Linked DNA regions of Homo sapiens: all the other regions are linked to region 1. The links are contacts of gene promoters, found by promoter capture Hi-C in blood cells and fetal thymus (Javierre and others, 2016). All regions are on one chromosome and are shown on one strand. The core of a region is centred on a gene start or on the middle of the fragment in contact, and the rest is flanking DNA. Distances in the headings are between cores, read along the strand shown.

Region 1 (3,679 bases), core at 774-3,273:
AATTGGCTTTGCTTCCTCATGCATCTTATTAAACCCTTTCCTTCAAGCCCCTCCGGTGGACCCCAAACCACAATCCATGGTTGTGGCTTCCTGATTCACGGGTCGTTATTTGCTCAGATAAAATCTTTAACGTTTTAACCAAACCTCAGTTTAATTTTTAACAAAAGAAAGAAAGGACTACGGACCCCACGGACCACAGCTCCTCCCACGCCCGAACCCCGAGCCGGGGTTCTCCCCTACGGCCCCTCCCGTCATCACCGCACAACGCGGGGAGACACGGGGCTGCGGGCGCGAAACTGCCCAGAGAGGGCTCAAGGCAGGACCAAGGTCGTCGCGCAGGGACGGGACGAGGCGCCCGGGGTCCCAGCTGCCGGCCGAGCCGCACCGTGTGACCGAGGAGACTCCGGGCCCCGACCCCGGAGCCGCCAGGGGCAGGCCCGGTTCCCAGCCGACCCCTGCCGCGTCTCGGGAAGCTCAGCCCCGCAGACTCACCATCTCGCGGCTTCAGGAGCGTCCCGGTATCCTCTCTAGGGACCGTCCAGTACCTGCAGGTCACAGGGCAAAGGAGGCTGCGGAATGAAGGAGAAAGAGCAGGGTACACAGATCAAGCAGGGAAGCGCACCTGGGAGAGGAAAAGGCCAGCCCAGAACACAGGAAGTGCGCCCCCTTTTTCGGCTGCGCGCCTGATTGGACAGGCTCGACAACGGCGCCGCTGAATGGATAGGGCTCCAGGTCCCGCCCCCTTACCCCCGAGTGACAGGAGATGCGATCACAGGTGTGGCTGAATGAGGCCTGAATGAATGATTGTCTGCAGCCCTTTTCAGGCAGGGCTGACTCCCTGTGCTGGGACCTGGGGCTGCTCCGGACATTGGTATTTAACTTTGCTCATAAGATTATATCAATTTATGAGTAATATAGGTAATATGTAAAATTGAAAATTATATAATAACGATTCTTTTAAAATTTCAGATTTCATAACCTTCATGGCCTCTGGTCCCTTGTGGAGGCAGCATGAGATTTGAAAATGGAGGGAGTCCTCTAAGTCAGAAATGTCCAATAGGAATAAAATTGAGCCGCATGTGTCATTTACAGTAGCCTAGTGGCATCATGAAAGGAAAACAGGTAAAATTGATGGTAATACCTTAACCCGATATATCCAAAATATTATCACTCAAATATGTGAGCAATATGAAATTATTAATGAAGACCACCAGAGAATGCTTCTTAAGTTTGGGGTACTAAATCTTGTAAAGTCACTCTGTATTTAAACTTCTAGCACATCTCAGTTCCAACCAGCTCTATCCAAAGAGCTCAGCAGCCCCACGTGGGCAGTGGCTTCCGCATTGAAGAGCAGATCTGAGGGCACTTGCGCGTCTAACCTCAGGGAAATCGAGGGCCTGGACCCCCTTTCCTGCCAGACGAGAGCGAACACCCTCATCCTGCCCATCTCTTTCCTCATGCCCAAGGGTGGGAGAGGCAGTGCCCAGTGAGAGAGCCAGGGCTGCAGTCAGGAGGTGTCCACAGGTCGACCACTGCTGCCCACCTGCTTCTGGGCAGGGCTCCCTCAGCCTTCCAAAGGTCAGACAGTGAATGAAGAGTGTCAGGCTTCAGGAGGAAACCCCTGACTTCAGATCTGTCTACAGCCTTGACCTCCAAAGTTTGGATGTGGAGGGAATAAAAGCAAATTTTTTTTATTTTGCAATTTGCCCTTGGCCCTGATGGTTAGGCTATGGCGGGCTGTTTCCTCCTATGGTGTGGGGACTGTGTGAGTTTAAGCACCAAGCATGTCAACATGCATTTCTGTATAATTTATCCCTATCCAACAAGAGGCCCCACTTTAAATAAAGGGAAAAGCAAATCAATACCTTATACAGTGCCTTCTGTTTGCCAGGTAACAACAAGTAGTGACCAACCTGTCATTTGAATCCTGGCAACCTGACTGCAGGTGTATGTATCAGTTAGCTATTGCTGCATTAAAAACCACCCTAAACCTTATTAGCTCATGATTGGGATGGTCAGTCATTTAGGCTGGACTCAACTGGGCCATTCTTCTGGTCTCAGCTGGGCTCCTTCAGGCGTGTGTGGTCAGCTGCTGGTTGACTAAGTGGCTCTGCTTCTGGGTGTCAGCTGGGGCACCTTGGTTTTCCTCCCCAGTGGGATCTCATCCTCCAGCAGGCTAACATGTGCTTGTTCTCATGGAGATGGCAGGGTTCTAAAAGAAAAAGCAGAAGCATTCAAGGCCTTATGTCCCTAGACCCCAAACTGTCACATTGCCATATTGATAGCTTTCTATTGCCCAGAGCAAATAAGGCCAGCCCAGATCCAAGCGTCAGGAAACAGATTCTGCCTCTATGTTGGAGCAGCTGTAAAAGCATATTCCAAAGGGCATGGACACCAGAGCCATTTTGCAGTCAGTATCATTCTGCCTTTTCTTACAGCAAGGTTTATATAACTGTTCCAAGTCAAGGAACATGTCCAAAGCACTACAGCTACTAAGTGGCTGGACTGGGACTCTGGATCAACTTTGCCTGACTCCAAAGCCCATGTACCTCCATAGACCTCACAACTCAAGCAGCTTCCCTAGGCCTTTGAGATCCTGAAGACTGACTCTTCTGCAATAGAATAAAGGTTCTTTTGAGATGCTCATCCTTCTAGTAGGATTATTCACAATTAGGAGTAATCCCCACCAGAGAATGCTTCTGAAATGTCTTGCAAACATTTAGATTAACTTGGGAAAATGGCTGATGGCTGAGTTTAAAAAATCAAGGCATAACTTTTTCATTTCTTACCATAGGAGAGATCTGAAAACACATATAATGCACGAACATGTGTGCAAATTATTTTCATCCCCGTGCGTTATTTGTAGTCTGATTATGATTTTTAACACAGACTAAATTAAACTACTGTTCCCGAAACAACGTTTTACTCTGAAAGCAAGAGACACAAAGGTAGATCTGCCGAGAAGACATTTCCTCCTGCCTCAATTTAGCCAAACAGCTGAGTACGTCTTAAAGTCAGCCTTCGATTTCTAACAAGTCAAGCTGTTTGCCAAGACCTCAATCAGATCATAAGAGTGCTTCAGCTACTTCATCATCCTAGAAGGTTGACCAGACAGATCGAAGCTCTGGGGGTGGAGTGGTGAGAGCACCCGCACTAGCAGGTGGGCAGCCATAGGTCCATAGATGAGAGTCATTCATTAGGTGGGGTGTTTTGGGGTCCTGACATTTATGACACAATTAATGTCTATATTACTAAATGTAAATTTTAAAACATTACAAATAATAAATCTACATATAAACTGAATATGTCAGCAATTACAATTATTGTTATTCATCATTATTCTAAGTGTGATCATTATTATTACCACAATTAGAAATAGTGGTTGTGATTGTTGTTGCTGCTGCTGCTGCTGTTGCTGCAGGGATGGTGATAAAAACACCGGGTAAGGCTCTGCTGCCTCCTCCACTTGTGGCATCGGGAGCTGCTGGCTCACTAGTTTGGTGCACACTCTGGACCTCTTTGGTGAAGCTGCAGCTGAAGAGCCTTCAGGCTCTGCTATGGCAGAGAAAGAGCCTGAGTCAAGGCCGAGAGCAGAATCCTGTGAATTTGAAAGTGGCAGGTAGGATGGTCCCGGGGTGCAGTTGATGGTGAAGAGGCACACACCACTTAGTGAATGAGT
Region 2 (3,679 bases), core at 564-3,063, 670 kb after region 1:
CCTGTAATCCCAGCTATTCAGGAGGCTGAGGCAAAAAAAGAAAAGAAAACATGTGTCCCACAGCCAAGACTAGGTCTTGTCTGGGGTCACAGTAACTTCCTATTGAATGGAAGAAAATAAAGCAGGGTGTTATAACCGGACTGAGCATCAGGAGACCTGGCTTCCTGACCTTGAGCAAGTTCTTTCTCTCTCTGAGCTCAGTTTCCCCATTTGGAAAAGTCATCCAATTGGACTCCATGATCTCTGCAGGCCCTTCCTTCATACACCTGTCATCTAATACTTCATGAAACATTTGCTGAAATGTCCTCATTTCTGAGAAAAAAAACCCACCTGGGTTTTTCTCATTCTTGTGTTGACGGAGTTATAGTTCTCATCAGCTTCCTCCTTCTGGGGCTCTATGGCTGTGGGAAGACACAGGGGTATTGGGGGTACTTGTCTCCATAGGATTTTTAGGGAAATATAATTTATCATAAAATGACTAAGGCTGAGCCTCTAAGAGGAGAAAGTAAGTTTATTTTTCTTTGCATTACATCACTGAGTTCCCATAGGTATGCAGAGGCCACCTAACAAAACTCCATCTCCCTGCCCAAAGAATGCCCAGTGGGCAGCGATAACTGTGTAAGTAAATGGTTTCATTGTAAATAAAAGAACCTGAGAGGCGGACTTGTGCTGTGGAGAGTACAATGGCCTGGAGGCCAGGAGACAGATGCTAGACCCAGGCCTGCTGTGTGACCTGGATATATCACTGGCTTCTCTGGGCCACACACTCCCCAGATATACCAACAACAGGGCAGGATCAGAGGGAAGGATCTGTCTGAGGTCCCAGGAGCTCACCCTTCAGCTGCAGGCGGATCTCCCTCCCCAGCTGTTTGATCTCATCGCGCAGGTTCTGCAGCTCCTGCTTCATGCCTGAATAAGAGAAGGCCAAGACTCCCAAACAGCAGCCCCCACCTCAACAAACCACTCTGGCCACCACCTGCGTGGAACTACAACCCCCACAATCCCTGGGGCGGAGCATGCGCCCTGCAGCCGGGGTTTCACTCACTCTCCTCGGGAAGGGGCGTGGCCAGGATGGTGACCTGCTGTTTCTCCAACTCCTGGACTTTATTCCCCAGTTTGACAATAGTCTGCCGAATTGTCCGGACCTGGGGAGGGTGACCGAGAGGGCTGAAAGAGATATGGGGTACTCCAGACCACGCTACTCCTCGGGTCCTCCTACACCCTCGCGAATCCAGGCGGAGACCCCAGCCCCTTACCTTGTGGAAGAACTCCTCGTCCGGGCTCCCCAGCCGTGCCGTGCCCGGGTGCACCACCAGCGCGACCCGCTCCTTGTCCTCTTCGTCCGAGCTGTCATCCCCCTGCCAGGCCCGGAGTCATTGGCACCACCGTTTCGCTGCGGCTCTTACCCCGCAGGACCCACAGGCTTCCGGGACTTTCCTTCCTGGCCATCAGCCACCCCTCCCTATCCCGAAGACCAGAAGTCCTGCGTTCCAGTTCGTCCGCCCGTCCCCATCCCCGCTGCCCTGGCGTCTCACCTGTCTCAGCTCGTGGGTCCTGTCCCGCATGGCGGCCTGAGCTCTCCCTCCCCGGCGCCAGAGCCGGGAGGCCCTCAAATTTGGAATTCCCGTACCCCGCTCACACTCTGACACTCCCCTCCCTCCCCCTGCGGACCCCAACACCCCCACGAGCCGCCAGAGGCTCCGTCCCTTGCACCGCCCACAGTCAATGGGAAGGCGCCGACCCCGGGGACCCCCCAAGGTTCCACAGGTTGGAATTCCCTTTTCTTCCCCGCTCCAGCTCCCGCAGCCTCAGCCCCGCCCCTCCGTGATAAATTCGGGGCATGCGCACATGGTCGCGTCTCTTCCTTGCCCGAGGCTGGGAAGGTGGAGTCGGAAGTTGTTGCGCCCCGAGCGGAAGCGGAGATGCCTGGACGCGAGAACTTGCTACCGTCACCGGAACCGTTGCATCTTCCAACGGAAATCTGGTTGCCAAAAGGGGTAGGAATACGTCATTTGTACGTAATCCGAGACACCCGCATCTCACATCACCCCATGGTGCCCCCACCGCGTCACGTGACCAGCCCGGTCCCAAACTCGTGGACCGCAGAATGTGACCCTGTGACTGTCACGTGTCCCGGCTCTGTCACCGCCGTCTCTGGGACGCCGTTCTCATCACGACGTCCCCGGCACCCCAACGACCGAGCGACGCCCACACGGCCCCCGCGAGGTGGGGAGGGGCGCGCCGACCACCCCCAGAGGCCTTTCGAGGCAGTGGGTGGTAGGACCCTTGCTGACCTCGCCTTTATTGCTTTCGGGTCCAGGGCGTGGGCGGACTGACGACTTAGCATTTGGGGCTGTCAGCATCATGGGACCTTGAAAATCGGGAAATAATAGGATCCGAGTCGTCAGCGTCAGAAAATTGCAGGGTTGTGTGGGCAGGGAATCTGGGGGTGGGAAGTGACCTCAGCCAAGGCAGAAATCTCTTCTTCCGCATCCTTCTGGCGCAGCCTCTGACAGGTGGGCGGCCAGCCGGCGCCCTCCTTGAACACTGCAGCCCGGCTGCACTCACCACCTTGTGAGCCGTCAGACCATGTCAGGGCAGCTCAGGCTAAGAAAAGTGTTTGTATTGATCACGCTGCCTCCCTGCCACTCACACCCCCCAGCCCCTGCCTTGCATCTGAGGCCAGGTAATGACTTTGTTCTTAACTGAATCTGGGGAGTTCCTAGCCCAGTACCAAGAACATTACGGGCCCTCTATAAATACTTGTGGACAGAATTTCAGGCTTTCATGTATCTGAGGATAAAGCCCCTGGTTCCTTGGTCTTCTTTAGGCTTCAGGCTTTCTGACTGTGACACTTCTCTAATCCTGGCTATCTAGATATTCACTCATTTTTTATTTTTAAAAATTTTTACGAGATGCGGTCTCACTATGTTGTCCAAGCTGGTCTCTAACTCCTGGGCTTAAGCAATCCTTCTGCCTCAGCTTCCCAAAGTGCTGGGATTACAGGCATGCACCACCATGCACAGCAACATTCAGTCATTTAATGGATATTTTTTGGGCACATAGTATGGGCCAAACACTGTTCTAGGGCTGGAGATACATCAAGGACTAATAGACAAAAATTCCTGCACTCGTGGAACTTATATTCTCTAGAAGGAGTCCCCAAGGTCACTCAGCAAGTCTCAGCATAGCCGGGAATGAATAACAGGTCTCCTGGACCCCAGGGCTCTGTCCAGGAAGCTTCTGTGAAGGTACAAGCAAGGAAAGGAATGGACCCTTTCTGCTATGCCCTGGTCAGGAAACCTAGATTCCTGGGACTGAGTTGCTATGGACTTCTGGAAATCGCTTCCTGTCTCTAAGTGTGGATCTCCCTCTGCACAGTGGGTAACTGTAGGGGGATGGGGAGATCATCTTTATGGGTATCGGCTGCTCTAAACTTCAGTGATGATGAGGTTGGAAACTGTCAAGTGCTGTGTGATTCTATGTGAGGAGTTTTGGCTCTTCTCCTCTTCCTGTTAAAACCCAGCTCAGGCAGGGTGTGGTGGCTCATGCCTGTAATCCCAGCACTTTGGGAGGCTGAGGCAGGCAGATCACCTGAGGCCAGGAGTTGGAGACCAGCCTGGCCAACATGGCGAAACCCTGTCTCTACAAACATACAAAAATTAGCCAGGCATGATGG
Region 3 (3,679 bases), core at 716-3,215, 620 kb after region 1:
ACTTCGCCTCTTGGCTCTACGAGCAACAAGTTCACCTGAGGTCACTGAGAGGTTCCCCAAGCATCCATGCCCAAGGACCTAATTTCTACTAGATCCAATCTGCAGGCACCATCATTTAAGGCTTCCCTGTGCACAAGCTTCCCAAATATAGGAGCTCCCCTAGGCTTAAGTCATCCCTACAGGTATAGCTAAGGAAATTAAAGTTGAGAGAGATGCAACCTACTTCTGATCACAGACCTGTTATGTTCTTCAGACCAGACTCAAAAGGCATTACTGTCCTTTAAGAACAGTAGGAATCTGCTCCCTACAATCCTGAAACAAAAATTTTCTGTGACATCTTAAAAGGACACCAAAACCTTCTCTAGGCCTTTCAATAAGAGAAGTCCAAATCTTCCTACTTCATCTCTCAGCTAAACAGAGTAGCTGAGAAGCACTGAAAAAGCAGCTGTTTCCTCCAGTTAATAGCTGAGGACCTGAGAGGAGAGGTTAGAGGCCTCCTTCAGGGAAAGGGCTGGCTTGTTCCCCCACCACCCCGAGTCATTTCAGTGTCACAAGGTCTCTTTTCCTTGTGACAAGAGAGTTAAGAGAGTTAAGACTCTCTTAACTGGGCCAGGTGTGGTGGCTCACGCCTGTAATCCCAGCACTTTGGGAGGCCGAGGCTGGTGGATCACCTGAGTTCAGGAGTTCAAGACCAGCCTGGACAACATGGTGAAACCCTGTCTCTACTAAAAATACAAAAATTAGCCGGGCGTGGTGGTGGGCACCTGTAATTCTAGCTACTCAGGAGGCTGAGGCTGAAGAACTGCTTGAACCTGGGAGGTGGAGGTTGCAGTGAGCTGAGATCCCACCACAGCACTCCAGCCTGGGTGACAGAGCGAGACTCCATCTCAAAAAAACAAAAAACCCCAAAAGACTCTCTTAGCGACTTCTTTTATCTACTTCCCTTGAACTCAAACTATCTTCCATCTTGGGAATAACATCAATACCAGGTTGTAATGTCACTTCATTGCCTACCTTTTCTCTCCCATGCCTCCTGATCTTACCCTCACCAGTCTTTCTCATTTTTTTCTTCTGCCTCCTCTCTTAATACTGATGATGACAGCAACTCATGAAGAGTATTATATTACCATGTGCCAGGCACTGTGCTAACTATATTCATTGTGTTACTCAATCCTCAGAACACACGGCAATGCCTGTTATTCTAGTTCACGTAACAGCAAACCCCCTGACTGAGGCGGTCTTCATCCCAAAGCCCTTGCTCTCTCATGCCCCCTACATCGTCTTGTCCTTCTCCAACTCTGACTCTTCTTCCCATGGGACCCCAGTACAACTGTCTCCGACCGTAAACCCCTTCACTGAACCTGCCCCCGGAATTCTCACCTCACAAAGCCCCTTTGATCAAAAGTCCCCTCCCCTAGTCAACCACCAATGAAGTCCTCTGACCTCACTCATCTCGTCTGCCAATTTCCTCTCAGGACGCCTACCTCGCACCGGCGGCCCCCTCTCCTTCCCGCCGCGGGCGCGTCAGTTGGGGACCGCGAACAAGAGCGCGCCTGCGCACTGGGACCCTTACCCTAACTGCAGCCGCGCGCCCCAAGGGGTGGCTGTCGGGGGGCTCTCGCGCTCCCACACACGCACACTCAGCCAGGGTTCCCGGGAGGTGGGAGGGAAGGGAAAGAGGGAAAGGAGAAGGGGGGAAGAGGAAGGAGGTAGAGAAAAGAGGGCGCAGCTGGCATGAGCCAGGAGTCTACTCCCAGCTCTACGGACACTTCCTATTGTTACTAGGAAACAGGAAGTGTCCTTAGGTGCAAAAGCTTCCCCGCGAAACTTCCGCTTCGGGAGCACTGCCTGTCCCGCCTCCGAGCCGCAGTTTTACGCAGACACACTTCCGGCGCTAAGTTCTAGGTCTGCACGGCTGACTCCGCCCACGTAGGTCACAACGCGGCGTCTTTGCACGCTAAGCTAGCCACACTTCCGGCAAGAGCAGCTAGAATCGTTCCGGTGCATATTGAATAGGCGCAGAAAGGGAGAAAAAGATTCTACAGCCCTGGCCACAGTACTTTGGTGACACTTTTCGTGGGGCTCTCTGGAGGACTTTTCCCAAGGCAGATGGAGAAAACTTCGTGAAACCCACTCCTTGCTATTAAAGGAAATGTTGTGGAATATAATTGGACTTAGGTTTTGCAGAGCTTGAGCATGGCCTTTTTGTCCTCCCACCTTCTGGTTCTTGAAGACATTGCCGGTGACCTGGCCCCAGACTAACACAAGGCGGGCGTATACCGTCAGCCTGCCTGGCGTCCCCTTGCCTCAGCACACACAGAGACCTCTTGCAAGATGCTTCTCTGCCGCCATAGGCTGGAGGTTCCCCGGGAACTTTCCCTTCCTTCCTAGCTGAGGAAGATCCCTCACTTCCGCTCGCCGCGCCACCGGTCCCACCTCCCCGCCCCCCGCTGGGTCCTAGCGCCGGCCCCTGTTTGGCAGGGTCCGGGCTCCGTCGGTGCGAGGAGCCGACGCCGACGCCACGGAGTCAGCACAAGTCTCATCAGGTAGGAAACGTCGGCGGGAAGCCGCGAGGGCCCCGGGCAGCTCCCACGCGGCCACGATCCGAGCTGGCCTCAGTTTCCCTGCGGGCGCCGAGGGCGGGCCGGGTTGGCCCAGCGCGAGCAGCGCGGGCGGGGCGGGCTGTGAGCGGCCCCGGGCGCATTGCGGGCCCAGCAGGTCCTAGAACCCGCCGGCTGTCTCCGCGGTTCTGGGCTGCGGACACCCAGGCTCGGCCCGCGCGGCTGCTGGCCCGGCGCGGTGTGGTCCCGGGGGTCCTAGAGCCCGCCATGTTTTGGGTTTTTGTCCCGGTCGCGTGGCCCGCGCTGCAAGATCCCAGGCGCCGGCGGCCCCCTCCCCTGCTGAGGCCCGGCCACCACTCCCGCGGTCCTAGAGAACGCCATCTTGCAAGCCTTTGTCCCTCATTCGGCCTTCCGTCCATTCATTTGTTCATCTCCTCATCCTTCGTTCAGTCCTCCTTGCCACGTCCTCCGAAGCCACGTTTTCTGAGGCTTATAACCGGGGTCCTGCCCTCCAGGGGCTGCCTGGCTGGCGGGGGCGCCGCGTACAGACGGTTGCGAGGAGCGAGGAGCTCCGGGTTTCTGCAACTCTCGGCTCCTCGGCGCGCTTCGTAGGCCCCACCGCCCTTCAAACTCCCACAAACTTAAGGGACCCCATTTTACTGATGAGGAAACTGAGGTCCAGAGCGGCGTGGGGCCCTTACCTCTCTACTGCCATAAAGTATTCCTGAGGGCACTAGGGAAGGGGGTTCTTGAAGGATGTAAAGGGGCTTTCCCGTTGGAGAAGGCAGGCAAGGGCTCCCCGAGCCCAGGAAACTGCATCTAGAGGTGGAGGATTGAGAATTGTGGCTGGAGGTTCGGTCGCTGCCGGGAGGAGGACTCTGTCGCTGGAGCTGAGGCTGGAAAAGTAGGTTGGGATCAGGTTGTGAACTGGCCCGGTAGGAGGCCTAGGATATGATTAGCGCTCACTTCTGCAGGGTTCATCCGCTCACTACGTCACTCCTGGCCGTGAGGCCTGTGTGGTGACTGCTTGTTTAGAGATGGGAAGATTGAGGTGCCTCCTTTTTCTCCTCATCCCTGCCCCAGGGTCCTAGCCTAGGATTTTTGGAAATTGAATCTTT

The links. Contacts are between HindIII fragments. The CHiCAGO score rates a contact against its expected background, and 5 or more counts as called.
Region 2: a contact is called between the fragment with the promoter of STX4 here and a fragment that was not itself captured in region 1, in 2 of 17 cell types (fetal thymus and naive CD4 T cells). The highest score is 6.8, in fetal thymus.
Region 3: a contact is called between the fragment with the promoter of ZNF668 here and a fragment that was not itself captured in region 1, in 3 of 17 cell types (fetal thymus, naive CD4 T cells and erythroblasts). The highest score is 6.7, in fetal thymus.

The regions. Positions count from the first base shown.
Region 1 is chr16:31,697,552-31,701,230 of GRCh38, reverse strand. It overlaps the pseudogene CLUHP3. Among named protein-coding and RNA genes, the nearest start is that of KRABD5, 14 kb to the left of the region's middle. RefSeq lists silencers at 265-414, 675-814. The HindIII fragment of the contact is 5,761 bases long and covers 1-3,679 here.
Region 2 is chr16:31,031,692-31,035,370 of GRCh38, reverse strand. STX4 (syntaxin 4) reads right to left here and starts at 1,813. Exons shown (of 11, transcript NM_004604.5): 1 at 1,536-1,813; 2 at 1,257-1,358; 3 at 1,046-1,145; 4 at 835-909; 5 at 331-401. The coding sequence starts at 1,565. RefSeq lists enhancers at 955-1,465, 1,978-2,489. The HindIII fragment of the contact is 4,602 bases long and covers 1-3,242 here.
Region 3 is chr16:31,072,526-31,076,204 of GRCh38, reverse strand. ZNF668 (zinc finger protein 668) reads left to right here and starts at 1,965. Exons shown (of 3, transcript NM_024706.5): 1 at 1,965-2,546. ZNF646 (zinc finger protein 646) reads right to left here and starts at 1,783. Exons shown (of 3, transcript NM_014699.4): 1 at 1,574-1,783. RefSeq lists enhancers at 1,017-1,549, 1,905-2,044, 1,550-2,083, 2,703-2,997, 2,289-3,089 and a silencer at 2,355-2,814. The HindIII fragment of the contact is 2,318 bases long and covers 1,817-3,679 here.